7 separate regions of the Homo sapiens genome follow, and all the other regions are linked to region 1. The links are contacts of gene promoters, found by promoter capture Hi-C in blood cells and fetal thymus (Javierre and others, 2016). All regions are on one chromosome and are shown on one strand. Each heading gives the region's core, a stretch centred on a gene start or on the middle of the fragment in contact. The rest is flanking DNA. Distances are from core to core; before and after follow the strand shown.

Region 1 (3,436 bases), core at 937-3,436:
CTCCACCGCAGCTCCTAAAGGTTGCCAACTCCCATGTCCAATCTGGCTCAAAGACAGCACAATCATCAAAAGAGGAGCCCCTAGAAACCTGGGGCCAGGTGAAACAATGAGCCTTCATTTCTAAACATGAGAGTGGGTCACGCTTTCAGAATCCTCCAAGATCAGACTGGGTAGAAACAAAGGATATGTTATTTCTTGAATACTTCTTTAGAGAACCAACGCCAAATAAAGGAGCTCAAACTGAAGGATATGACGAGAATCTTCTGCTTGGTAAGGTTAAACATCCAGACACACATGGAAGGTGGTGGGCTCTCAAGCCCCAGAGAAGATGATCTATGTGACTGGAAGCAGATGTGTCTGCTCAAGTTCCTGACAAGGTCTAACTACTGCAGCCCCACAGCCCACCAGGGTAGTTATCAATCTGATACCTCATACTATGCCTGGGCAAAGGGAACAGAGCTCTGGGATTGCCGTTCCTCCTGGATACAGAGGAAATTAAGCTCCCAGGGAAAAAGAGGGACAATTTGGATTCCCTAGATTCAGAAAAGAACAAAGAAAAAAGAGGGAGAAGAGACTCCAAGAGAACATGTTCAGTGACCAACATCAGAGGCACATTCAGTTGGCCAAAGATTGTCAAAGAGATATGAGAGAAAATCAGCAGCTGTTTCAAGCCACCAATAATAAAAGGGGACAGATGCCCGCCAGCCCCAGGGCTATCAGGCCAGCAATCTATTTCAAAACTCAAACGGGAAAAAAAAAAGTTCTGGAGCCAGTACACAGAAAAAAGGTTGAGGACCACAAGTATTTTCTGGAGCACAGCTTCTGGAGAATTCTCTTAGTCCTTTCGGATGGAGCACAGGGTGGAGGGTGGGAGTGAGGGCAGAGAGAGGCTGGGGTATCATGGTATAAGTGTATTCCACACATCCAGAGTGGAAAGACACAAAACCCCGGTTCCTGGAAGGGGAAAAGAATTGGACAAAGCCTCCGGCTACCCGTGGCACACATCCAGCTCAGCGCCGTCTCCCCCAAGGGTTCCTGGAAGTCAACAGCCCCATAAAGGGGAAGTATTAAAGCTGAGATAAGAAGAATGGCCTACAAATTGGACATCATCTCTGATGCAACACCCACGTACATTCTCCCACACAATCTGTTATTTCCTTTAGTCAATCAGCCTCTTAATTCGATCAAGGTCTGAACACCTCCACCCCCACCCCATGGTTATGTCAACTGCAGGTCAAGTGAAAGTAGAGTAGAGTGTGGAGCTAAGGCTTCTCCCTGAAGCAGGGGAAAGGAACAGGGAGAGAAAAGGAGGTGGGCGACAGGAATGTAGGGGACAGAATTGATACGAAGGAAATCGGAAAAAGGAGCAAAAACAGGGCCTCTCAGGGAACCAAGGTGAGAGTCTTAGGGAGACAGGGACTGCAGGCACGGAGTTGGAAAAAGCCTAGGAACACCCTGGGGAAGAGGATGGGGACCCATAATACTAGGAGGGATCAGACCACAGATAAGAAGGGGACAGGGATGGGGAGAGAGAGTAAAGCCTGAGAGAGCAAGGATGGGAGGATGAAGGCAGGAGACAAGGATAACGAGGGGGACAGAGGAAAAGATCCCAGAGAAGACTCTCGCTAGATAGGGCAGTGGATTCAGGAACACCAGAAACGGGTGAAGGAAGAGGTCAGAGGCAGGGGAGGGGAATGGGAGAGGCCCCCGGGCCTGAGACGGGGTTCTCACAAGTGGGAGAAGACGAAGCCACCAGGCCCAAGAGGGGGCAAAGAGTAGGGTGGAAGGAGGCCCGTATTTCGGACTCACTCAAGCAGCTATGGGGGTCCAAGGGCGGGGGGGCGCAGGGTCAGCGGGGCGCCTACATGGCAACGCACGACGGCTGACCGGAGCGGGCCGGAGCATCAGGAAGCCGCCGTGACGCTGTCCGCGGACCCCGGCAGCTCCCCGCACCCCGTTCCCCGCCGCCGGGCCTTGCGCCCCAGTCCCGCTGGCCGCCTCGGCCCAGGCCCGGCGCTTCCCTCCGCCACTTGCCTGACCGCTTCTCTCGTCTCGGACTGACCTGTCCCGGCTGCCTACGGCGCCACCGCCGCCGTCCCGCAGGCTCCGCAGAATTCTCCCGCTCCTGCCAAAACTTTTCCCATTAATCCCCAGGTCCGCGGCGGCCGCAGCGTCACACGCTCCGCGGCCCGGCCCCGCCCCCGCCAGCGAGACGTCACCGCGCTGCTCGGCCTTTCCCTCCCCACGCCCCCTTCCGCCCGGCGGCGGCCAATCACCACGCCTCCTGGAGACTCCCCTAATTCTGCCTCTCCGCCCACCGCACGCTGCCCCGGGCCAGCCTGTGGCGCCCTCTGGTGCGGGATGCGGACGTAGCAGCTAAGGGAGGAGCAGGGGAGCGCCAGGTCCAGTAGAACAAGTCCAGCAAGTGACACAAGAGGGAATTTAAAGCTGGAAGGGAATTTCTAGGTCATCTAGTGCAACCTCCTCATCTTCCAGTGAAGAAACTTAGTCCTAGAAAAGGTACGTGACTTGCAGTGACAAGTCTGGAGAGACTCTTAACCCAGTGCTAGGTCCACTGGAGGAGATCATATCGCCTATAATTTTCAAAAAAGGGCTTTCCGCCTTCAAGAGGCTTCTACAACTGGAAATTTACGGTCTTAGAGTTCTTAACCTTTCTTCCCATGTGCTTATGCAATACGCTTATTCACCTAAAATAGGGGACATCCTCCTTATTGTTGTAGAAAATTCTGTTCTTATTAATCCACATCTTTAAGACCTGGAAGGGACCTATTATCCCAACCTACCGCTTAAGATGTACCACAGGAAACTACCTAGCAGCTGGGAGGCAATCTGGTGGAAGAAGTTGGCTTTCATCTGACGATGAACAAAGCTTGACTCTCAGGTATATGACCAATGCCTCCCCTCCATCATCATTAAAGATGACCCCTCCCCTCTCCTTCGGCCACACCTTCCGTAGGCCGCAAGCTCCTTAGGCCACACCTAGCTATCTGGATGAGTGATTTTTTTTTTTTTTTTTTTTTTTGAGACACAGTTTCACTCTGTCGCCCCTGCTGGAGTGCAGTTGCGCAATCTCAGCCCGCTGCAACCTCCGCCTCCCGGGTTCAAGCGATTATCCTGCCTCAACCTCCCAAGTAGCTGGGATTACAGGCATGCGCCACACGCCCAGCTAATTATTGTAATTTTAGTAGAGACAGGGTTTTGCCATGTTGCCCAGGCTGGTCTTGAACTCCTGGACTCAAGTTATCCTCCCACCTTAGCCTCCCAAAGTGCTGGAATTACAGGCGTGAGCCACCGTGCCTGGCAGGGATGAGTGATTTTTTCCCCCTTCTTTCTGCTTCTCTTTTTCTTTTTCTTTTTTTTCCCCTACTTTTTGAAATGCTTGTGCATTATATTTGTAACTTAGATGTCAACCTCC
Region 2 (3,505 bases), core at 251-2,750, 300 kb before region 1:
TGACAAGAGCCATCCTCTGAGATTACTAAGATGACTTGCATCCCTTGAAGTGTTGGAGCCAAAACATGAAGAGCTAATTCCTTTATCAAATGGGATTTAGAAAGCTAGTAAATCAGCTTATACAGGTTGCCTATTTACTCGAATTTAAACAAGCCATTGTTTTCAAAATAGCAAGGTGAGAACCAAAAGAAAATGTTTCTTTTTTTCCTCTCTCTTTTTTTTGAGAAAGAGTCTTGCTCTGTCACCCAGGCTAGAGTGCAGTGGCATGACCTCGGCTCACTGCAACTTCTGCCTCCCAGGTTCAAGTGATTCTTGTGCCTCAGCCACCCGAGTAGCTGGGATTACAGGCGTGTGCCACCACGCCTGGCTAATTTTTGTATTTTTAGTAGAGACGGGGTTTCATCATGTTGGCCAGGCTGGTCTCAAACTCCTGGCCTCAAGTGATCCCACCCGCCTCAGCCTCCCAAAGTGTTGAGATTACAGGCGTAAGCCACTGTTCCCAGCCTGAAAACATTTCTTCATTGACAGTATTTTCATTTAAAAATTTAGCTGAACTCCAAATGATGAACATTCAAAAGAAAGCATTGTCTTTGGATGATTTGAAAGCAAGTGGCAGATATCATGACACCTCACCCCTAAATACTACAGCATGTGTCTCCTATGAACAAGGATATTACTCTGCATAAAACCATAATACTATATCACATTCCAAAAGGCTGACATATAGTAGTAATAAGCTAATATGCAGTCTCCTGTTCCAAGTTCTTATATTTTGTCCCCTAATCCAGGATCCAGCCAAGGATCACTGATTACACTTGGTTGTCATATCTCTATAGTCTCCTTTAATCTGGAACAGACCTCCCGTCTCTCCCTCTCTCTCTTTCTCTCTCTTTTTTTATCTTTTAAGAGATGGGGTCTCACCCTTCGGCCCAGGCTGGAGTACAGTGGCATGATCACAGTTCACTGCAGTCTCAAACTCCTGAGCTCAATCAATAGTCCTTCCATCTCAGCCACCTGAGTAGTTGGGACTACAGGTGCACGCCACCTTTTTGGTTCTTTATGTTGTTAACATTTTTTCAGGAGTGTAGGCCAATGGTCTTGTAGAGTGCTCCACAATCTGTTTTTGTCTTTTCTTCCTGGTTAGTTTCAGGTTAAACATTTTTGATAGGGATAGCACATAGGTGATAGCACATCTAAATCACATCACTACATCATATTAGGAGACAGAGTAATAGCACTTTTTTTCATTATTGGTGATGCAGAGTTTGGTTATGATGCAGATCATTTGTTAAAGTGTTATCAGTCAGATTGTTTTACTTGAAAGGTCTTTTTCCTTTTTTAATAATAAGTAATCTGTGGGGTACTTTCCCAATAACCTCTCACCTGGTGGTTTTCATTTGTTCAGTGCTTTACACCCAGAGATCTATTGATGGATGTCAGCATCTCTGTGAATCCCCAGGAAATTTTTTTGTGTGCATATATTTTCCCAGGCATACAGTCCAGGACCCTCCAAATATTTAAGAGATCTTTTCCCTCTGTTATCAAGGTGCCTTTTACAAGTTTCTGTGCATCACAGAAGCATATTATAAGCAGTGGGTTTCTAGAAGCTGGGAACCAATCCCGTTCTTCTGATTTTCCTGATTATCTAGCTCACCTCATGTAGAGCTAGGTACATAATTTTTGTTGTTTGTTTGAGAACGATTGTTCTGGCCTTTCGCTTATCCTGAGCCAAACATTTGGATCTTTCATGTTTGGTATAAAGCGTACTAGAAACTAGAGCAGAGAGACTTAGCCCCTGGTTTTTGGTGTTCTCATTTGAAGATTTTGGGGCACAACAATTGGATTTGTGTCTCTGTTGAACTGAATAGTGGTCATTTGGAAATGAGTTAAAACACTACAGTATATGTTTTAGTTGTCTAATTATAGTTGTATCAATAAGACATTTTCTGCAAGTGCAGAAAGACTCTTTGACTCTGTAGACAAGAAGGCTCAGGAGATGAGTTTAGGGGGCATTAAGTTTGTTATTAGCCTAATGTGTAATAGCTGTAGGAGTGATTCCTTCTTGATTTTCCCTGCCCAAACAGGGAGCAGTGTGGAATTCATCATGGCAGTGGTTAGGTGTGTTTTGCTTAGCCTATGATTAGCCTGTTGGTTACATTGGCTTGCCTTGCATGAAAAAATGTCTGTCAGGTGACTACCAATAACAATAAGAGCTAACATTTGAATAGTATACCTTAAAAATACACATTATACCACTTCAGAAGATTATCTGTGAAAACAGATATTTTTATTCTAATCACATAGGTAAGGAAAAAATCTTAGAGAAGTTAAGGTAGCCAACATCAAACAGCTTGTAAGGAGCAGAGGAAGAACACCCCCAAATTCCATTACAAATTCCTTGCACTTTTTGTCTTACCATTCTCAAAGGTAGAGGCATTCTAGGGAATCTAAATATGAACAAAGCATGGACCTTGCTCTGAAGGATCTTTTAAACCTAACAGGCGCATAGTCTTATGAATCTCTTACAGACAACAAATCGAGAGAAGAGCTAAGGAAGTACGTAAAAGGGCAAAATGGCCTACAAATAGAGGGTCAAGGTTGGTATGACAGAAGTAGGATTTGAGAGAGGTGGATGTTTTGGAAACAAGAAAGGGAGTGACCAGAAGAATGACTATGGGAAAGCACTGGGTTTGTTGTAGAGGTGGAATTGGCCTAGTTTGGCTGGAGCATGAGCTGCATGAAAGAAAGTAAAATAAAATAATGGCAGCTAGAACTCAAAGATAGATTAGGGCCAGATTGTGAAGGGCCTTGAATGCCACATGGAAGAACATTCTGTAGGTATTTTGGGCAGGAGATGAAAAATGACCCTACAGAAGGCCCAATAATGATGATAAATGGTTAAATATGTTTAAGTTACCAATCTATGCTAATCTTTTAAGAAATGTTATCTCACTGTAACTATGAATAGTGTACTGTGTCCATTTTGCAGATGAAAAATGAAGGCTCAGCAAGATTAAGGAAACTGGAAATGTCAAGAGCTGCAGCTAGGACCCAGACTTGGGTCTGTTGGATTCTAAATCCTGTTCTGTGTCTCACTGTGATTGATATATTGTCACTTCTTTTATTAAGAACTGATAAGGTCTTAATCCTCTGTCAAGAATATGGCTGTAGAAAAAGGATGTTTTCAAAGTTGTGAAGGGACTGCTTCTCACCATGTTATGTTAAGGAATGTAATCACTACCCAACTTGACTTGTACTGTTCTCTGTTTTGAGACCAGAGCTAGATGGGAAATTAAAGAATTGGATGATGTTTTATTTACATGCCTGATGACATCAATACATGCTCATAGCAAATGCCTTTGTTTTCATTTTCAGTATCTAAGCTTATTGGCCCTAAGTAAATCTTAGGTTAGGTAGAGCTCAGTTCCCAGGGACATTCAAGATTCATAAAGAAGTGATATTTTTCCCAGCTAAAATATTTTTCTTCTTACCAGGTTCTCTACTT
Region 3 (3,528 bases), core at 858-3,357, 380 kb before region 1:
CTCCTTACCCATCCTTCTGTGGAAAGACATCACTAAGTGCTGGTCCTAAAGATCCCACCCTCTCCAAACCAAGGAGGGAACAAAGCATTTATATCGCACGTTTACCGTGTGGAAGGCTCTGTATTGGGTCCTGCTAAAGAATGTCACCATGAGGTTAAGACACAGTCCTGAAGTCCTTTGTTCTCCCTCCTTCCCACCTCCACAGTTTGCTGTGCCATTTCTCATGCCAGGAGTGCCTGTCCTCCCTGTCTACCCATCTCTGCTGCTCCAGCTCATAAAGCTTCCTTGAAACAGTGCCAGCCAAATCTGATTCCTGTCTCCTCTGAACGCCCAGCACACTCAGTTTGTACCTTTCTCACGGCACAGCGTGTGGCCTGTCTCATATTCTAGCGATCTGTTTACTAATCCTGTTCTTCTAACCAGATTAGAAAGTCCTTGAGGCAGAAACAAAGTCTGCTTCTTCTTTGAGCCCTCTCCTCCACTGCCCCCGCCTCCCACCACCATTCCAACTCATCCCCCACAGGCCAGGCTTGGCACCGGAGTTCATGTTCAATAAATATTGGGTGTATTGAAATGATATCCTCCCCTTGGGCAATTGAAGAGACAAACACGCTGGATGTTAGGTTAAATAATAACCCAAGCCAGCAGGTGGTGAGTACCAAATGTGTGTAATAGCTATAGGGACTCAGAAGAAAGAAGGTGGTTCTAGGGAGAAAGATATGGGAGAAAGATCCCAGGAGGTTCTAGGCCTTGAGCTGTGTGTGTGTGTGTGTGTGTGTGTGTGTGTGTGTGTGTGTGTGTGGAGGAGGAGGAGATGGGAGGGGTGGACGTGACTCATTCTGCTTGACATCACCACAAAACAACCTCCACGCTAGGCACTTCACATGCATTATCTCTAATATTTAAGGTTGGGGGGATAGGATTGGGAGGCTTGGAGGGCACAGTGCCCAAGCCAGGCCTGCCTTCCCAAAGCCAACCAGAGCATAGAGGCAGCCTTGGATCTGGGCTCCCCACCCTCAGTCCCTGGGCACTGCCTGTTCTCTGGCCTGCCACTCCTACGTACTACACCCAAGAGAGCTGCCCAGCACTGCCTAGTTCTGGATGCACTCTGGTCCCACCCTGGTGAACAACTGCCTGTGTGACCTTGGACAAGGCACTTCCTCACCGTCATCTGTACCTCTCTTGCAGCCCTTACAGGCTGTGACTTCCAGTCAGTATCCAAGTGATGCTTGCCGCCTTTCCGGGTGTCACCTGGGCTGCTGGGGCTGTCTGCACCCTACATTCCCCCAAACACCCCCATGCATACACACTCATTGCTCCCTCCCAGTCTGGAGCTGCTGAGAGGAACAGGGTACAGAGTGTGAGCAGGGATGGTAGGTTTCCTGTGGTTGCAAAAGGAACATCAGGACTTTCCCTGCGGTGCCCCGAGCTGTGGGAGAAGTGGGGGAGGAGGAGGCAGGGCCAACCTCGAAGGAACCTCTGCTCTCTTCCCTCCCCATTTTAGTGCTCACAGCTCTCAAAAAGGCTGGTACAGTTTGTTACGCTGGGACCGGAATGTACCGTGTGTTTCATATGGCCTCTGTCCAGTCCTACACTGGCCGCTTTATATTTATACTTCCTTCTTTAGCTGTGGCATCCTGCTGTCAGTTACCCCTGCTCTCATCTCCCCATCTTCCACTTGGGCTCCCCAACTCCCCATGGATCAAGAAATGAGTCTCCTGCTTCCCACTCCCCGTCTTTAGGTTCTAAACTCTTGCTGGGGGTGGGAAGGTGGGGTGCAGAGAGACCCTGGAGAAGTTAGACTCCAGAAGGGTGAAGCCCCCAGTCCTTTCTCTCTCCCATCACCCAGCCTTGAAACTGCCTCTAAAGCTGTGGAGTCTCCACACCAGGTCTGGAGTTTCTCTGGACCCTTGAGGCTGATCCCTCTCCCCTTGCCAGCCTTGTTTCCCAAGCCTTTTAGCAATATTCCTGAGCCCAGCTAGACAAGTGACAGCACTATGTAAGTTGCCTCCAAGAGCTCGGCAGACCTGGTAATCACAGATCCTTCCTTGTCAGTCACAGAGAACAGAGGCAGAGGTGGGGGCCTCGCGGCAGGGAGGGGGATCTACCCATCCTCTCACCCCCAGGAGTCACACATTCCTAATGGAATTTGACACTTGATGATTTCTCAATGATTTTCTGAGTTGTGACCAGTTTAATCTCCTCAAAGTGGCTTAGATATTGAGAGATCAATACGTTTATGATCTGGCCTTTCTCCCCCAGGAGCATGGGATATTATTATTCACATTGATGGCTAATCTTGATTGCTTATATGGAGAACTATCTCTGCACACCAACCCCCAACAGCGTTTGGAACCCAAAGACTGTGGCACAGGAGACTCACTACTAGACCCAAGGTTGAGGTTCAGGTCTTTATTTACAGGATCCCATTTACTCCTCACAACAATTCTGGGGTGTGGGTGCTATTGTTAGCCGTCTTTGACAGTTAAGGAAACTGAGGCTCAGAAAAATAACAGAGCTCAGCTGAGATTCACACTCAGGTCTGTCTGACATCAAAGCCAGCACCTTTTTTTTTTTTTTTCTGAGACAAGGTCTCACCCTGTTGCCCAAGCTGGAGTACAGTGGGGAGATCATGGCTCACTGCTGCCTCAACCTCTGGGGCTCAAGCAGTCCTCCCACCTCAGCCTCCTGAGTAAACGTCCCAAGTAGCTGGGATTACAGGTGTGAACCATCACACCTGGCCAAAGCCAGCACTTCAAAATAGTCTTCAAGATTGCTCAGATTATGTAACTAAAATGCAAATTCTCCATTTCTCAAGCCTCAGAGTCTTACTCCCTTCTCCCTTCAAATGAAGGAGAACTCTGCCTCCTTGGAGCTCCTGCATGCCTTGAGGTGTGATCTGACAGCTAGAAAATTGTTTTTAGCCCATTCGACAGGCTGAAATCTGGATACTAGCAAGGCCCCAGAGGACAGTCTCAGCAGTGGAGTTGGACAGTCAGGCCTGCTGGCTGTGGGCTCCGTGTGTCTCTTGGCTGGCTGGCATGCCTGCTGCCCCTCACCCTTCACCCAGGAATAAACTTCCTGGTTGTATTGATTTGGCTCTGGGATCCAAAAACCAGGGGCTGAGCCTGGGTTCCAGGGCTCTGAAGTCAGGTCTATCTGCAGCACCCAGTGACAGTGACACGGCCTCTCTTAGGACCCGTTTACAGCAGGCCTTTGGGAGAAAGCACCACCATTATGTCAATCCCTGGCACTTATATCAGGCTGTGTACATTTAATGTACCTGCCTTAACTCAGTATGATCTTAATATGCCTCTAAAGTAAGAATCAGACTCGCTTTCCTGCTGGGAAAACTGAAGCAAGAGCAGCTAAGTTGCTTGCCTAAGGGCAAGAAACTAGGTTTGTAGTTGCTGTCTGGGGTACTTTGTTTCCTATCACAGGGCCTCTCCTGAGCTAAGAGAGGAAAAGTTTTCCAGGATGTCCTGATGATGTGTGGGCTTTCACTCAGCCCTATCACCCAAGGAAGGG
Region 4 (3,311 bases), core at 704-3,203, 330 kb before region 1:
TTTACAGGGCTGGTAATTTTTTCTCTTATATAATGTTAATTCCCAATCACCAATTCACTATCACATCACTTCCTTTTCTTCCCTGGAAACGTATGTTTAAATACATTTGCCCTCTCTGCATTTTGAACATTTGCATAATGTACAAGTACTTTTTTTCTTTTTTTTTTTTGAGACGGAGTCTCTCTCTGTTGCCCAGGCTGGAGTGCAGTGGCGCGATCTCGGCTCACTGCAAGCTCCGCCTCTCAGGTTCACGCCATTCTCCTGCCTCAGCCCCCCGACTAGCTTGGGCTACAGGCGCCTGCCACTACGCCAGCTAATTTTTTGTATTTTTTTTTTTAGTAGAGACAAGTTTTCACCGTGTTAGCCAGAATGGTCTCAATCTCCTGACCTTGTGATCCGCCCGCCTCAGCCTCCGAAAATGCTGGGATTACAGGCGTGAGCCACCGCCTCCAGCCACAAATACTTTTTAGTCGCCATAAGCATAATCAAGAAATCATTTTGCAAATGGTAAGCTTTTCATGTTGTGTATTCTTTCCCATGATTAGAGAGGTAAAAAGTGGCCTGGGATGCATAAAGATGTCGTAGACCTCTGCAATCTGCCACATTATTTCTTTAAAAAAAAAAAAAAGCAAGCTTCTGGACTAGATTGATTTTTACTGAAATATTAATTTTTCTTTATTATTTTTAAACACTGAAGTTGAATTGTATAATTCACAAATGCCTATACAAAACTTTTTTCCATGTCCTCAATACTTTGTATCAGATTATTTATATTTCTCATGGTTTGGTTTCTTTTTCTTGTCTTCATTTTTCTGAAGGTAAAAGGGGATTTTTTCCCCCCTTTTCTGATCTGTAACTTGTTTTGTATTTGGATGATTACCCTTTATAACAAATTTTATCTTCTAATTATGCTATTAAGCGAGAAGATAGTGGCCGGTCACGGTCGCTCACGCCTGTAATCCCAGCACTTTGGGAGGCCGAGGTGGGCGGATCATGAGGTCAGGAGATCGAGACCATCCTGGCTAACACAATGAAACCCAGTCTCTACTAAAAATACAAAAAATTAGCTGGGCGTGGTGGCGGAAGCCTGTAGTCCCAGATGCTGGGGAGGCTGAGGCAGGAAAATGGTGTGAACCCGGGAGGCGGAGCTTGCAGTGAGCCGAGATCGCGCCACTGCACTCCAGCCTAGACGACAGAGTGAGACTCCGTCTCAAAAAAAAAAAAAATTCTTCTAAATTAGATTTTAGGGTTCTTTTGAGGGCTGAGTTTGTGTGTGTAGGTTTCTCTTAGCCCCTTCATATATTGTGTTGGAACTTCTGTTTCTATTTTTTAAATGTTTTCTTATGTTGAATTATTTTATTGCTGTTTGAAAAAAATATGTTAAAACTGTATTTATGGGTGGTTGCTAGCCTTTTAAATTTACATAGTAATAAATTTTGCTGTTAACTTCATTCTTAGAATATGAAGTTTTTTGTAATTTAACTTCTTTAGGTATTTACCCTGCAATTCTGATACCTTGAGAGAGAAAGGGATAATTGACTTTTTCACTTTCATTTTATAGATACTATTTGGCTACCTTGTTCCTTCCCTTTATTTTCATTTTATTTGTGTCTCCTAAAAGTGGGGACCTTTTAATATAATGTTAGGCGCTTTATAGGCTGTCTTTTCTTTTATAAAATGTGTTCATTTCACTTTTCCATTTTTAATATGACTATATTCTAGATTTTCTGTAATTCATGATATATTTTTTAAGATTTTGGCTAGATTTGTCAGTTTGGATTGTAGTTTCTTTTAACTTGTTTTTGTTTATTTATTTATTATTTTTTTTTTTTTTTGAGACAGGATTGCACTCTCTTACCCAGGCTGGAGTGCAGTGGTGCGATCTCAGCTAACTGCAACTTCTACCTCCCTGGCTCAAGCAATCCTTCCACCTCAGCCACCCAAGTAGGTGGGACTACAGGTGTGCACCACCATGCCCAACTAACTTTTCTATTTTTTGTGGAGACAGGGTTTGGTTTTACCGTTTTGCCCAGGCTGGTCTCAAACTCCTGGGTTCAAGGGATCGTCTCACTTTGGCCTCAGAAAGTGCTGGGATTACAGGCATGAGCCACTGCACCTGGCTTATTAATTTCATTAATACTTTGCTTTTACCTCCATTTAACAAACTTTGGTATTACCATATATGAGATATTTTCATGTGTATGTGTGCATTTATATTTTTTAAATATGTGACTGAGTTTTTTCCCTTTTTCTTAGATTCCTAGGCTATTTCAATATTTTTATACCTGTTGTCTACTCTGCAGCTAATGACACAGATAGCAGTATATGAGTTTTTCTTTTCTTTTCTTTTCTTTCTTTTTTTTTTTTGAGATGGAGTCTTGCTTTGTTGCCCAGGCTGGAGTGCAGTGGCACGATCTTTTCTCACTGCAACCTCCGCCTCCCAGGTTCAAGCGATTCTTGTGCCTCAGCCTCCCGAGTAGCTGGGATTACAGGTGCCCACCACCACACCCGGCTAATTTTTTTTTGTATTTTTAGTAGAGTCGGGGTTTCACCATATTGGCCAGGGCGAACTTCTAACCTCAAGTGATCCACCCGCCTCAGCCTCCCAAAGTGTTAGGATCACAGGCATGAGCCACCGTGCCCACTGAGAATTTAATACACTTTATGTAAGTTAATTTTTTATGATAGTTATCTAGCTTTGCCAGACCAATTTTGTTAGTAAATTTAAAACATTAAAAAATTTTGAATCCTCCTAATTCTGTGTCTCTAATTTAGTAATTTTAAGTTTTGATCCTTGTTTCATTCTATCATTCTTTTATTTAAAAAAATTGTCATTGGCTTTTCTAAAAGTGAATCGTGAATCATGATTCATGTGAAATAATTAACTCTAAAACAGCAAAGATACCTTTTAGAACCTTCATTTTTTATAAATTGCATTAACAAGTTATGCAGTGATGTGAAGATACAAACTAAGGTCATTAAGTTTTCTTTAATTTATAATTTATATTAACCTATTCATTGAAAAGGATTTGATAGTTTGTGATTAAAGCAAAACAGGCAAAGACCATTAAAAACAAAGACAGAAAATGAGCATAAATCACTTGAGAAATAATGAGCAGAATGGGGGAATGGGAAGAAATCTTTATACCAGTAATCTGAGGCAAGATAGTTTCTGTGTTTGAACATTAAATTTAGCTCTGAGCTTCCTGGCAAGCAAGAGAAAAAAGGAAACAGGGTGACTTTTATAGTTATTGTCCAGTAAAGAAAGCTTTTTCAATTTTTCAGAAGAGAGAAACTTTTTCTGAGTCATA
Region 5 (3,485 bases), core at 485-2,984, 400 kb before region 1:
CCTCCTTTAAGACTTCATTAAAATGTTACCTTCTCAGTAAGGCCTTCTCTAACCACCCCCATCCCAGCCTTCCTTACCACCCTCCACTGTTATTTTATTTTTCTCTACAGCATTGTCACGTGTAACACACATTTTCATTTCTTTAATTTTGTTTTTTAATTTAATTTTATTTTATTTTATTTTATTGGAGACCGTCTCACTCTGTTGCCCAGGCTGGAATGCAGTGGTGAGATCTTGGGTCACTGCAACCTCTGCCTCCCAGGTACAAGCGATTCTCCTGCCTCAGCCTCCCAAGTAGCTGGGATTACAGGTGTACGCCACCGTGCTCAACTAATTTTTGTATTTTTAGTAGAGACGGGTTTTCGCCATGTTGGCCAGGCTGGTCTTGAACTCCTGACCTTAGGTAATATGCCCACTTCGGCCTCCCAAAGTGCTGGGTTTACAGGCCTGAGCCTCCGCGCCCGGCCTTTATTTTGAAATGATTATAAATTTACAGGAAGTTGCAAAAATAGTACAGCGAGGTCCCATGTGCTCTTCACCCAGTTCCCCTCAATGGTCACATCTTGCATTATAGTATAATAGCAAAACTAGGAAATTGGTGTTGGTGTAATATGTGTGCATAGTTCTATGTCATTTCAGCACATGCACATATTTGTGTAACCACAACTGCAGCCAACAGATTATCCCACCAGAACTGTCCCATTGCCACAAAGATCTATCTCAAGAGACCCCTTTAGACTCACTCCCACCTGCTCCCCCAGCCCAAAGCCCAGGCAACCACTTGTGTTTTCCATCTCTATATATGACCTTTTAAGTTTGAGGATGTTATATAAATGAAATCACACTTTATGTGATCATTTGAGATCGGCTTTTTTCACTCAGCATAACGCCCTTGAGAACCATCCAAGTTGTTGTGCATATCAATATTATATTCCTTTTTATTACTAAGTAGCATTCCATGGTAATGGCTATACCATTTTGTTTAACCATTCACCGATTGACAGACATTTTTGGTTGTTTCCAGTTTGGGGCTATTCCACATAAAACTGCTATCGACAATCGTGTACTGGTTTTTGTGCAGATATAAGTTTTCATTTCTCTAGGATAAAGGCCCAAGAGTTCAACTGCTGAATTGGTAAATGTATGTTTAGTTCTGAAAGAAATTGCCAAACTATTTTCCAGAGTGGCTGCTGTACCATTTTATATTCCCACCAGCAATATATGAAAGATCCGGTTTTTCTATATCTTTGCCAGCATTTGGTATCGTCACTAATTTTGATTTTAGATCTTCTAATAGGTGCACAGTAATATCTCAGCATGGTCTTCATTGCATTTCCCTAATGGCTGGTGATATTAAACATGGTTTCATGTGCTTATTTGCCATCCATATATCCTCTTCAGTGAAATATCTGTTCATGTATTTTGCCCATTTCCTAATTGGACTGCTTGTTTTAACATCAGGGTTGTTTTTGTTTTTAGACAGAGTCTCACTCTGTTGCCCACGCTGGAGTGCAGTGGTGCGATCTCGGCTCGCTGCAACCTCCACCTCCCAGGTTCAAGTGATTCTCCTTTCTCAGTCCCCTGAGTAGCTAGGATTACAGGTGCCCACCACCATGCCCAGCTAGTTTTTGTATTTTTAGTAGAGATGGGGTTTCACCATGCTGCCCAGGCTGGTCTCAAACCCCTGACCTCGTGATCCCCCATGCCTGGCCTAACATTCAGTTTTGAAAGCACTTGATACAATTTAGCTGAGTCCTTTATCAGATATGTGATTTTCAAATATACTCCCTCAGCCAGGCACAGTGGCTCACGCCTCTAATCCCAGCACTTTGGGAGGTCGAGGTGGGCGGATCAAGAGGTCAAGAGACCGAGACCATCCTGGCCAACATGGTGAAACCCCGTCTCTACTAAAAATACAAAAATCAGCTGGGCATGGTGGTGTACACCTGTAATCCCAGCTACTTGGGAGGGTGAGGCAGGAGAATCGCTTGAACCCGGGAGGCGGAAGTTGCAGTGAGCCGAGATTGTGCCATTGAACTCCAGCCTGGGTGACAGAGCAAGACTCCATCTCAAAACAAAAACAAAAACAAAAACAAATACACTCTCCCAGTCTGCAGCTTTTTTCATTCTCTTAACAGGATCTTTCATGGAGCAAATGTTTTTAATTTTAATAAAGTCCAATGTATTGATTTTCCTTTTATAGATCATGCTTTTGATGTCATGAACTCTTCACCAAGCCCAACATCTCAAAAGATTTTCTTTTTCTTTTTTCTTTTTTTTTTTTTGAGATGGAGTCTCACTCCCATCAAACAGGCTGGAGTGCAATGTGGTGATCTCGGTTCAATGCAACCTCCACCTCCTGGGTTCAAGTGATTCTCCTTCCTCAGCCTCCTGAGTAGCTAGGATTACAGGCCTCCTGGGTTCAAGATTTTCTTCTTGAAAACTGCATCACCCCCACCCAGACTCCTTTATCCACCCCCCGCCTTTTATTTTTCTCCATGGCACTTACCACATGAAACACACTATATATTTTACTTATTTGTGTATTGCTTGCCTTGCCCTGTTAGAATATAAATTCCACAAGCACAGGGATCTTCCCTGTTCTGTTTACTGCTTTCTCTCCTGTACTTAGAGCAGCGTGTTGGCACAAAGTGTTCAATATTACATTTATTGAGTGAATAAAGGGATCTTCGGTTCTAGGATGCAAGATGCGGGCAGGACGCAGTGGCTCACGCCTTTAATCCCAGCACTTTGGGAGGCCAAGGTGGGCAGATCACCTGAGCTTGGGAGTTCAGGATCAGCCTGACCAACATGGAGAAACCCCATCTCCACTACAAAAACAAAAAATCAGCGGAACGTGGTGGCACATGCCTGTAATCCCAGCTACTCGGGAGGCTGAGGCAGGAGAATCACTTGAACCCGGGAGGCGGAGGTTGCGGTGAGCTGAGATCGCGCCATTGCACTCCAGCCTTGGCAACAAGAGCGAAACTCCGTCTCAAAAAAAAAAAAAAAAAGTAAGATGCTTGGACCTAGAGGCATTACCAAAGACAGGTAACCTCACGAGCTGCACCTTTATGAGCCATGTAAGAAGTAAGCAAGAGTCCTGGAGTGGAAGTGAGCATTCCCATCAGTACCTGCCCTTCCCTTCCCCCACCCCTCAAAAGCCGTGGCGACCCGCAGGACAGGTTGGAGTCAGCAAGTCTGGGACAGGGTTTCAGAACGAGGGAACAGCAGCAAGGGGGCATGTGAGAGCATAAAGCATGCATTGTACGTGGCTGGGGTTAGGGCAAGGAGGTGCAGCCCATGGCCAATCACGCACTTTATGCTGAGAGCCTTGAGGCAGACCCAAAGGGCCTGATGGCCTAAGAGCCCTCTGGAGAGAGTGGGCTGATTCAGGGAATGGGGTGAGCTCCATTTTGGATATGTTGGGTTAGAGAACTTGGAGGGCATCTAAGTGGATATGCCTAGTAGCAGCTGCCCATGGG
Region 6 (3,607 bases), core at 605-3,104, 460 kb before region 1:
TGATGCTCTCTCCCAAAGTGCTGGGATTACAGGTGTGAGCCGCTGTGCCCAGCCCCCACATTGTTTTAAAGGACCCTAGGCCAGGTGCTGTGGATCACATCTGAAATCCCAACACTTTGGGAGACTGAGGCAGGCAAATCACTTGAGCCCAGCAGTTCAAGACCTGCCTGGGCAACATGACAAAACCCCGTCTCTACAAAAAATACAAAAAAAATTAGCTAGACATGGTGGTGCGCACCTGGAGTCCCAGCTACTTGGGAGGCTGATGTGAGAGGATCACCTAAGTCCAAGGAGGTTGAGGCTGCAGTCAGCTGAGATCATGCCACTGCACTCCAGCCTGAGCCAAAGAGTGAGACTCTGTCTCAAAAAACAAACAAACAACAACAACAACAAAAGGACCCTAAATAGCTTCCTCTACCTCACAAAATATCACTCCATTTGCTGCCTTAAGTATAAAATCCCATGATCAAGGAAAAAAGACTTTCACTCCACAATGAAAGAGGGGAATTTAGATGAAAGTTTCTATAGGCAAGGTCATACCCTGCATAATAGTAACACTCCAAAATCAGCAAGAGACCTTAGAATCTGAGAGCAGTTTGGAGTGGGAGAGAGAGAATGAGGACAGAGTTCTGGGCACTCTTAAAAAGAACAAAAGCCCAGAGGTGGGAGATGAAGGCATCTAGAATGTGCTTGACTGGTGTCACTACTTTGTGCTAGGGTTGAGTCCTATTCCCACATGGCCAACAATGGAAGCTTCCTTCTTTCTCTCTCTCACAGCTGCAAAAACTGATGTGATGGCCTGGGAATCAGGACTGGCAACTGTGTGCTCCTGGGCAAGTCACTTCCCCTTACAGATGAGGTTCTGGGCTCAGATGAGGTTCTGGGCTCAGAACCTCATCTGTAGGATGAGAGGGTTGGACAGCTTGGTCTCTAAGGTCTTTTCTGCCTCTGCCATTTTAAGATTCTCAACTCCTCAGAATCTTCTGCAGAGCACTGAGTAGGACTGGGCTATAGGAGAACAGCTAAATTTAAGGCCCAGAGCCCTGGCAGAGGCTGGGATGGTGCAGCTGCAGCTGTGGCCCCGGGGTGGGCCCCTGCCTGCCCTCCCACCATCTCTGCTTACCCGCAGCCAGCTGCATCCATGCACAGATCTTATAGACTGTGGCCGTGTTGCAGATGAAGAACAGGCTGAAGCAGATGATGGAGCCAATGATGAGGAACATGCCCAAGGCCACAAAGAACATGGCAGTCTTGAAGGCTCTAGAGGGGATGGAGGAGAAGTCTAGGGGGCCGCCCTTGCAGATGAGCTCGGAGGACAGCACGTTACCCACGCAGTAGGAGAAAAGGCCGAAGTAGCCTGCCTGCGGTGTGTTGACGCTGTCGCCGATCCAGTAGGGCTGGATGAAGAGGGCCATGACCAGTACGGAGAAGCAGATGGTGAGGGTACCCCACATCACGCCCACGGCTCGCGAGTTCCGCACATAGTTGGTATGGTAGATCTTGGCTGCCTCCTGGGCCGGCAGCAATTTCACCATGGTGAGGGCAGCAGGCCCTGGGCTGGGGTCCCGTGGGCTGCAAGTCCGTAGCTTTGTGGATGGAGGCCTAGAAGCAGGTCACTCCCCAGCGGGGTTTGGGGAGGAGGCTGAGGTCAGGGCACCAGGTGAGGTCCCTTCAAGGCAAGGGGAAGAGGCTTAATAGGACAAGGACAACCTTGATTTGGTCAAGGAAAGCTTGCCAGGTGCCTGTGTCCGCTCTAGCCGAGGCTGTCTCCAGTCTCCTGCCTCCTCCCAAGCCCACCAGGGCCTGCTGGCGCCGCCCTGCCCGTCTCCCTCTTCCCGGCTCACGGCTCCCGAGAGCCCCGCCCCCTCCTCCGTCCGCGGAGGGCGCCGTTTCAGCACCGCGGCCAGCGCCCCGGGGTTCCGGGCGAGGGGCGGGGCCTGCAGCAGAGGCGGGGAAGGGGCAGAGCTCCCACTACAGGCCCCCGCCGCGGGGAATCGGAACACCGTTCACCTTCCTGAACCGAGATGACAAGAATTGGGAAGGTGGGGATGTGACTGACACATTCCTACTGCTCAATTCCAGCAGCAAAAACGCTTTCCCCCCGCAAAAGCGCTGTCCACATCCCATCCCACCCCGCCCCTGCCTGGCTCCCTAGTCGCCTTCCCAGAACCTCCAACTCCACCACTCCGGAGGTCAGCAAAGCCTTTCCTGGTTGCCTTCTGGTCACCGGTTTTTCGTCCTTAGCATTCAGTCAACGATTTCTAAAAGCATACTATGTGTTAAGATTATGTTGGAGGACATCTAAGCAAAACCACAGATAAAAAAGACAGGGCCCCCGTCCTCAAAGACAGTGAAATATTTACATATATAATATACGTATATATGTAGTCTATATAAATATATATATAAAACGCCTGTATATGCAGACTGATTGTGTGATAACAGAAGCAACTACAAAGTATAGCAGACAACATTCTTTATGAGCCTTCTCAGACCTGAACATATGTGTTTTGTCAAATACAATGCCTTTCTCCCCTTGTTTCTATTTGTTTGTTACATATTTCCCCATTTAAATATATATATGTTTTAATATATTATATATATACATATTTCTCCTGATTTTATAGGTAAATACATGGCTAGTGTAAAGAACTAGGAAAATTCCACTGGGCGTGGGGCTTACGCCTGTAATCCCAGCACTTTGGAAGGCCAAGGCAGGCGGATCATGAGGTCAGGAGATCGAGACCATCCTGGCTAACACAGTGAAACCCCGTCTCTACTAAAAATACAAAAAAATTAGCCGGGCGTGGCAGCACGCGCCTGTTGTCCCAGCTGCTGGGGAGGCTGAGGCAGAAGAATGGTGTGAACTCGGGAGGCGGAGCTTGCAGTGAGCCGAGATCGCGCCACTGCACTCCAGCCTGGGTGACAGAGCAAGACTCCGTCTCAAAAAAAAAAAAATAATAATAATAATAACACCAACGTCCGGAGCTAAGGAAAGACAAGACAATCTTAAAAACATGGACTTTGGGGTTCAACAGGCCTGGATTTGAATGAGCTACTTACTAAGTAACCATCCATGGACTTAACCTTCCTTCCGGAGCCTCAGTTTCGCCATCTATTAAATGCAGGAAATGCACTTACGCCGGGCGTAGTGGCGGGTGCCTGTATTCCCAGCTACTCAGGAGGCTGAGACAGGAGAATTGCTTGAACCCCGGGAAGCAGAGGTGGCAGTGAGCTGAGATCGCACCATTGCACTCCAGCCTGGGCAACAAGAGCAAAACTCCATTTCAAAAAATAATAATAATAATTTTTTTTTTAAAGTGCTCAAAGGTACATTAGTGGTCTCTAATCCCAGCACTTTGGGAGGCCAGGCAGTCCGATCACTTGAGCTCAGGAATTCTAGACTAGCCTGGGCAACATAGCAAGACTCCCGTCTCTACAAAAAATACACAACTTAGCCAGGCATAGCCAGGCATGGTGGTGCTTGCCTGTAGTCGCAGCTACTTGGGAGGTTGAGGTGGGAGAATCACTGGAGCCCAGGAGGTCGAGGCTGCAGTGAACCATGATCACACCACTGCACTCCAGTCTGGGCTTTAACAAAAAAAGA
Region 7 (3,444 bases), core at 278-2,777, 430 kb before region 1:
AATTAGCCAGGCATAGCGGTGCACCCCTGTAATCCCAGCTACTCGGGAGGCTGAGGCCCAAGAATCGCTTGAACCCAGGAGGCAGAGGTTGCAGTGAGCCGAGATCATGCCATTGCACTCTAGCCTGGGTGACAGAGCGAGACTCCATCTCGAAACAAACAAACAAACAACAATAAGCATTTATTGAGCACCTACTATGTGCAGATACTAAGCTGGGGGTAGGTGCTTCATAGATGAATATGATGCGATCCCTGCCCTTGAAGAGTTCCAACCACTGGGAGAGGCAGAGAAAAGACATGGCCAGTTAGGGAGATACATGGTCTGCTGAGGGTCTGACCCCAGGGTACAGGAGCTCCAAGGAGGGAAGCCTTCTCAGAGGAGGTGGCTGGAGTTGTTTTGCACCATGAGTAGGAGTTTGCCAAGTGGAGAAGAAGAAGGGCACTCCAGACAGAGGTGAAAAAACAGGTGGGGCCAGGTGTTTTTTTTTTAACCTCCCTGCCCGCTTCTCTACTTGCCAGAAGTTGCCCCATACTAGGGCCTCACCTGGGGCAAGCAGATCATGGTTATTCTGGCCCTGGGGGCACAGAAGGCTCCACCGGAGTCCAAGTCCATGAGGCAGCAGCCACTGTAGCACTCAGAGTGGTGGAAGCACCTGTCTGTGATTTTCTGTGGGGACAGGCAGAATGTCTGCCAGGCTGGGAGCAATCCCTGAGTCGTGTGGGCGGGTAGGGGAGGGTTCCCACCATTGCCAAAGAGCCCAGGGATCCAGGAGAAGTCATGAGGTTGTCACCCCTTGGGGGGCTGGTTCCCCCCCCAGCCCCACCCCGGCCCCTCAGCAGGACCCAGGGCAGCAGAGAGGAGGAGAGGGGGATTAGCACTTTTCCCTCGGCCTCTCCTTTCCTGGACCCCCCTCACCTCCATGAGTCCCATGGGGTGTGTACTCTTAAGTCCCATTTTGCGGGGCAGGGTTGGGGGATGAGAATGAAGGGGCTGCGGGCTCGAAAAAGAGGGAGAGAAAGAGGAGAAAAGGGGAGAGCCCTCGTGCCTGGAAGAATCACTAGACAGTGAGAGGAGGTGGAAGAAGAGGAGGAGAAACCAGAGCATGCAGGGTGGGTTTGCCTGTGAGCAGTTTGGGGAGGGAAGCGAGCCCAGGACTGAGGCCATCGGAAGGGGCACGGGCGGGGGAGGTGGAGGGAGCGAGGGTGCTGGTCATAGGCCAATTTCTCTCCCCTCTGAGGCCACCAGGGGAAAGTGAAGCGGCTTTTGAAGTCCGTCTGAGGATGCCCCAGGCTACCCGCCTGGGTGTGGTTCCGGACCCACCTCTCCCTTTCAGGCTGCCCGGCGCCTTCGGGCTCCAGTGCCCCGGCGGCGGGGCCACCCTCTCCTGCGGTCGCGGCCGGCTGGGCGCGCTCCCCGGCTCACCTTTTTATATTGCGGAAGCGCGCTCCAGAGGGGCAGCACCGCCCCCGACAGGACCCCCGCCACGAGCGCCAGGGCTGCGGCCATGGGCCTGGGCGGCAGAGCAGCGGCGGGGTTCCGAGGGGCCGCGGGATAAAACCTCTTCCCCGGCCACGTGACCCGGCGCCCCAGGCCACCCCGGCGGAGGAGGGACGTGGAGGGCGAGGACGCCTGCGGAAGGGAAGGAGGGAGGAAAGGCGCTCAGGCTCGCACGGGCGGGATTCCAGACTGTAGGGGCCCTGGGAGCCTCCATACGTGTTACTTCCAAGTAGAAGCTTGAAACTGTAAGATAAAACTCTATTTTTATTGTAAGATAAAACTCTATTTTATTGTATTTATTTATTTTACAGACGGAGTCTCGCACTGTCGCCCAGTGCAGTGGCGTGATCTCGGCTCACTGCCATCTCCGCCTCCCAGGTTCAAGTGATCCTCCTGCCTCAGCCTCCCGAGTAGCTGGGACTACAGGTGTGCGCCACCACGCCGGGATAATTTTAAAAATTTCTGTAGAGACGGGGGTCTCCCCATGTCGCCCAGGCTGGTCTCTAACTCCTGGCCTCAAGTGATGGTCCTGCTTCAGCCTCCCAAAGTGCTGGGATTACAGGTGTGAGCCACCGCACCTGGCCTCAAAACTTTATTTTTATAAACGGCACAAAACATATATGCTGAAATAAAAAGAGCTTCCTTCCTGATGTTGATTCTCTGTCTGCCCTTGCAGCCCCAGATTCTCCCCTTACCTTCGGGATAATCCAGCCCCACCCTCTGGGCTGCTCACACCCGCTGCAGGCCCCATTCTCCTCTTCTGTAAGAACCAGGAGGTGGGACAAGATGGTCTCTAAGTCTTAAATCTCTTGCAGTCTTAATCATTCTATTAATTGTCTAAGGATTTGTCTGTGAATTGTGTGAAAGTCAAGATGTGGGGGCAAAATGGAGAAGTGGGAAGAGAAGAAAACTCAGAATAGGGAGGAGGGTTAAGGGAGAGCTAGAGCTGCACAGAGCAATCCTGGAACCGGGGGAGGCAGGCCTTCCTCAGGACTTCCCTATGGATGAAGCTTCCACCTCACCCCACCTGCCTGCTTCTGCTTTTTTTTAATTTCTATTTTTTTTTAATTTTGTATTGTTAATATTTGTTATAGAGACAGGTTGTCCTTATGTTGTCCAGGCTGGTCTTGAACTCATGGGCTCAAGAGATTCTCCTGCCTCGGCCTCCCAAAGTGGTGGGATTACAGACGTGAGCCACCACTCCCAGCCTGCTTCTGCTTTTGAAGTTTCGCTTAAGAAATGAACCGAGGAATCCTGTCTTGGTGGGGAATAACAGCCAAGAATAACAGCCCCCACCGCACTCAGAGGGCCTTGTATCCATTATTTCCGTGAGCCCTCCCTGTATTAACACTAGCTGTCACAGAGTAATTAACACTGGCTGTAACAACAGAACTCCTGGAATTTCGTGGCTTGGCACAATAATGCTTTATGTACAGTCTGATTTGGGGCAAGATACCCTTCTTCCATCCTGTAGCCATCTATAAGACTGGCCTCTGGCTGGGCATGGTGGCTCATGCATGTATTCACAGCACTTCGGGAGGCCAAGGAGAGAGGATCAGTTGTTTTGGGGGTTTTTTTGGTTTTTTTTTTTTTTTTTTTTTTTTTTTTTTTTGAGACAGAGTCTCACGCTATTGCCCAGGCTGAAGTGCAATGGCACAATCTCGGCTCACTGCAACCTCCGCAAAGTGCTGGGATTACCAGTGGGAGTCACCATGCCCGGCTGAGAGGATCTCGTGAGCTCAGGAGTTCAAGGCCAGCCCTGGGCAATATAGTGAGACCTCATTGCTACAAAAAAAATTTAAGAAATTAGCCAGACATGGTGGCACATGCATGTAGTCCTGGCTACTCGGGAGGCTGAAGCTGCAGTGAGTTATGATCGTGCCACTGCACTCCAGCATGGGCAACAGAGTGAGACCCTGTCTCAAAAAAAAAAAAAAAAACTAGCAT

The links. The method cuts DNA at HindIII sites, captures the fragments that hold promoters and counts their contacts. A CHiCAGO score of 5 or more calls a contact.
Region 2: a fragment that was not itself captured here is called in contact with the fragment with the promoter of PPARD in region 1 in 1 of 17 cell types (naive CD4 T cells); the score reaches 5.2 in naive CD4 T cells.
Region 3: a contact is called between a fragment that was not itself captured here and the fragment with the promoter of PPARD in region 1, in 2 of 17 cell types (naive CD4 T cells and naive CD8 T cells). The highest score is 6.1, in naive CD4 T cells.
Region 4: a contact is called between a fragment that was not itself captured here and the fragment with the promoter of PPARD in region 1, in 1 of 17 cell types (non-activated CD4 T cells). The highest score is 5.6, in non-activated CD4 T cells.
Region 5: a fragment that was not itself captured here is called in contact with the fragment with the promoter of PPARD in region 1 in 7 of 17 cell types (naive CD4 T cells, naive CD8 T cells, activated CD4 T cells and 4 more); the score reaches 11.6 in naive CD4 T cells.
Region 6: a contact is called between the fragment with the promoter of LHFPL5 here and the fragment with the promoter of PPARD in region 1, in 3 of 17 cell types (fetal thymus, activated CD4 T cells and total CD8 T cells). The highest score is 5.9, in fetal thymus.
Region 7: the fragment with the promoter of CLPSL2 here is called in contact with the fragment with the promoter of PPARD in region 1 in 9 of 17 cell types (total CD4 T cells, erythroblasts, naive CD8 T cells and 6 more); the score reaches 9.4 in total CD4 T cells.

Annotation. Positions count from the first base shown.
Region 1 is chr6:35,341,308-35,344,743 of GRCh38, reverse strand. It overlaps PPARD (peroxisome proliferator activated receptor delta), which reads right to left and starts at 2,186. Exons shown (of 8, transcript NM_006238.5): 1 at 2,063-2,186. RefSeq lists silencers at 1,725-1,774, 1,805-1,944, 2,125-2,334. The HindIII fragment of the contact is 7,732 bases long and covers 1-2,892 here.
Region 2 is chr6:35,642,833-35,646,337 of GRCh38, reverse strand. FKBP5 (FKBP prolyl isomerase 5) reads left to right here. Exons shown (of 11, transcript NM_004117.4): 2 at 3,495-3,505. Among named protein-coding and RNA genes, the nearest start is that of MIR5690, 20 kb to the left of the region's middle. The HindIII fragment of the contact is 3,770 bases long and covers 1-3,385 here.
Region 3 is chr6:35,723,811-35,727,338 of GRCh38, reverse strand. It overlaps LOC285847 (a long non-coding RNA gene), which reads left to right. Exons shown (of 10, transcript NR_027117.2): 10 at 206-577. It also overlaps a transcript of FKBP5 not described here. Among named protein-coding and RNA genes, the nearest start is that of ARMC12, 11 kb to the left of the region's middle. RefSeq lists a silencer at 1,321-1,497. The HindIII fragment of the contact is 3,649 bases long and covers 283-3,528 here.
Region 4 is chr6:35,669,788-35,673,098 of GRCh38, reverse strand. All of the region lies in intron 1 of FKBP5 (FKBP prolyl isomerase 5), which reads left to right. Among named protein-coding and RNA genes, the nearest start is that of MIR5690, 6.7 kb to the right of the region's middle. RefSeq lists a silencer at 794-993. The HindIII fragment of the contact is 2,635 bases long and covers 636-3,270 here.
Region 5 is chr6:35,742,746-35,746,230 of GRCh38, reverse strand. The region is part of intron 3 of ARMC12 (armadillo repeat containing 12); the gene reads right to left. Among named protein-coding and RNA genes, the nearest start is that of ARMC12, 7.5 kb to the right of the region's middle. The HindIII fragment of the contact is 7,406 bases long and covers 1-3,485 here.
Region 6 is chr6:35,803,599-35,807,205 of GRCh38, reverse strand. LHFPL5 (LHFPL tetraspan subfamily member 5) reads right to left here and starts at 1,854. Exons shown (of 4, transcript NM_182548.4): 1 at 1,124-1,854. The coding sequence starts at 1,535. RefSeq lists a silencer at 1,816-1,985. The HindIII fragment of the contact is 6,136 bases long and covers 1,733-3,607 here.
Region 7 is chr6:35,774,681-35,778,124 of GRCh38, reverse strand. CLPSL2 (colipase like 2) reads right to left here and starts at 1,527. Exons shown (of 3, transcript NM_207409.4): 1 at 1,423-1,527; 2 at 544-666. The coding sequence starts at 1,506. RefSeq lists a silencer at 1,417-1,546. The HindIII fragment of the contact is 8,503 bases long and covers 1-1,735 here.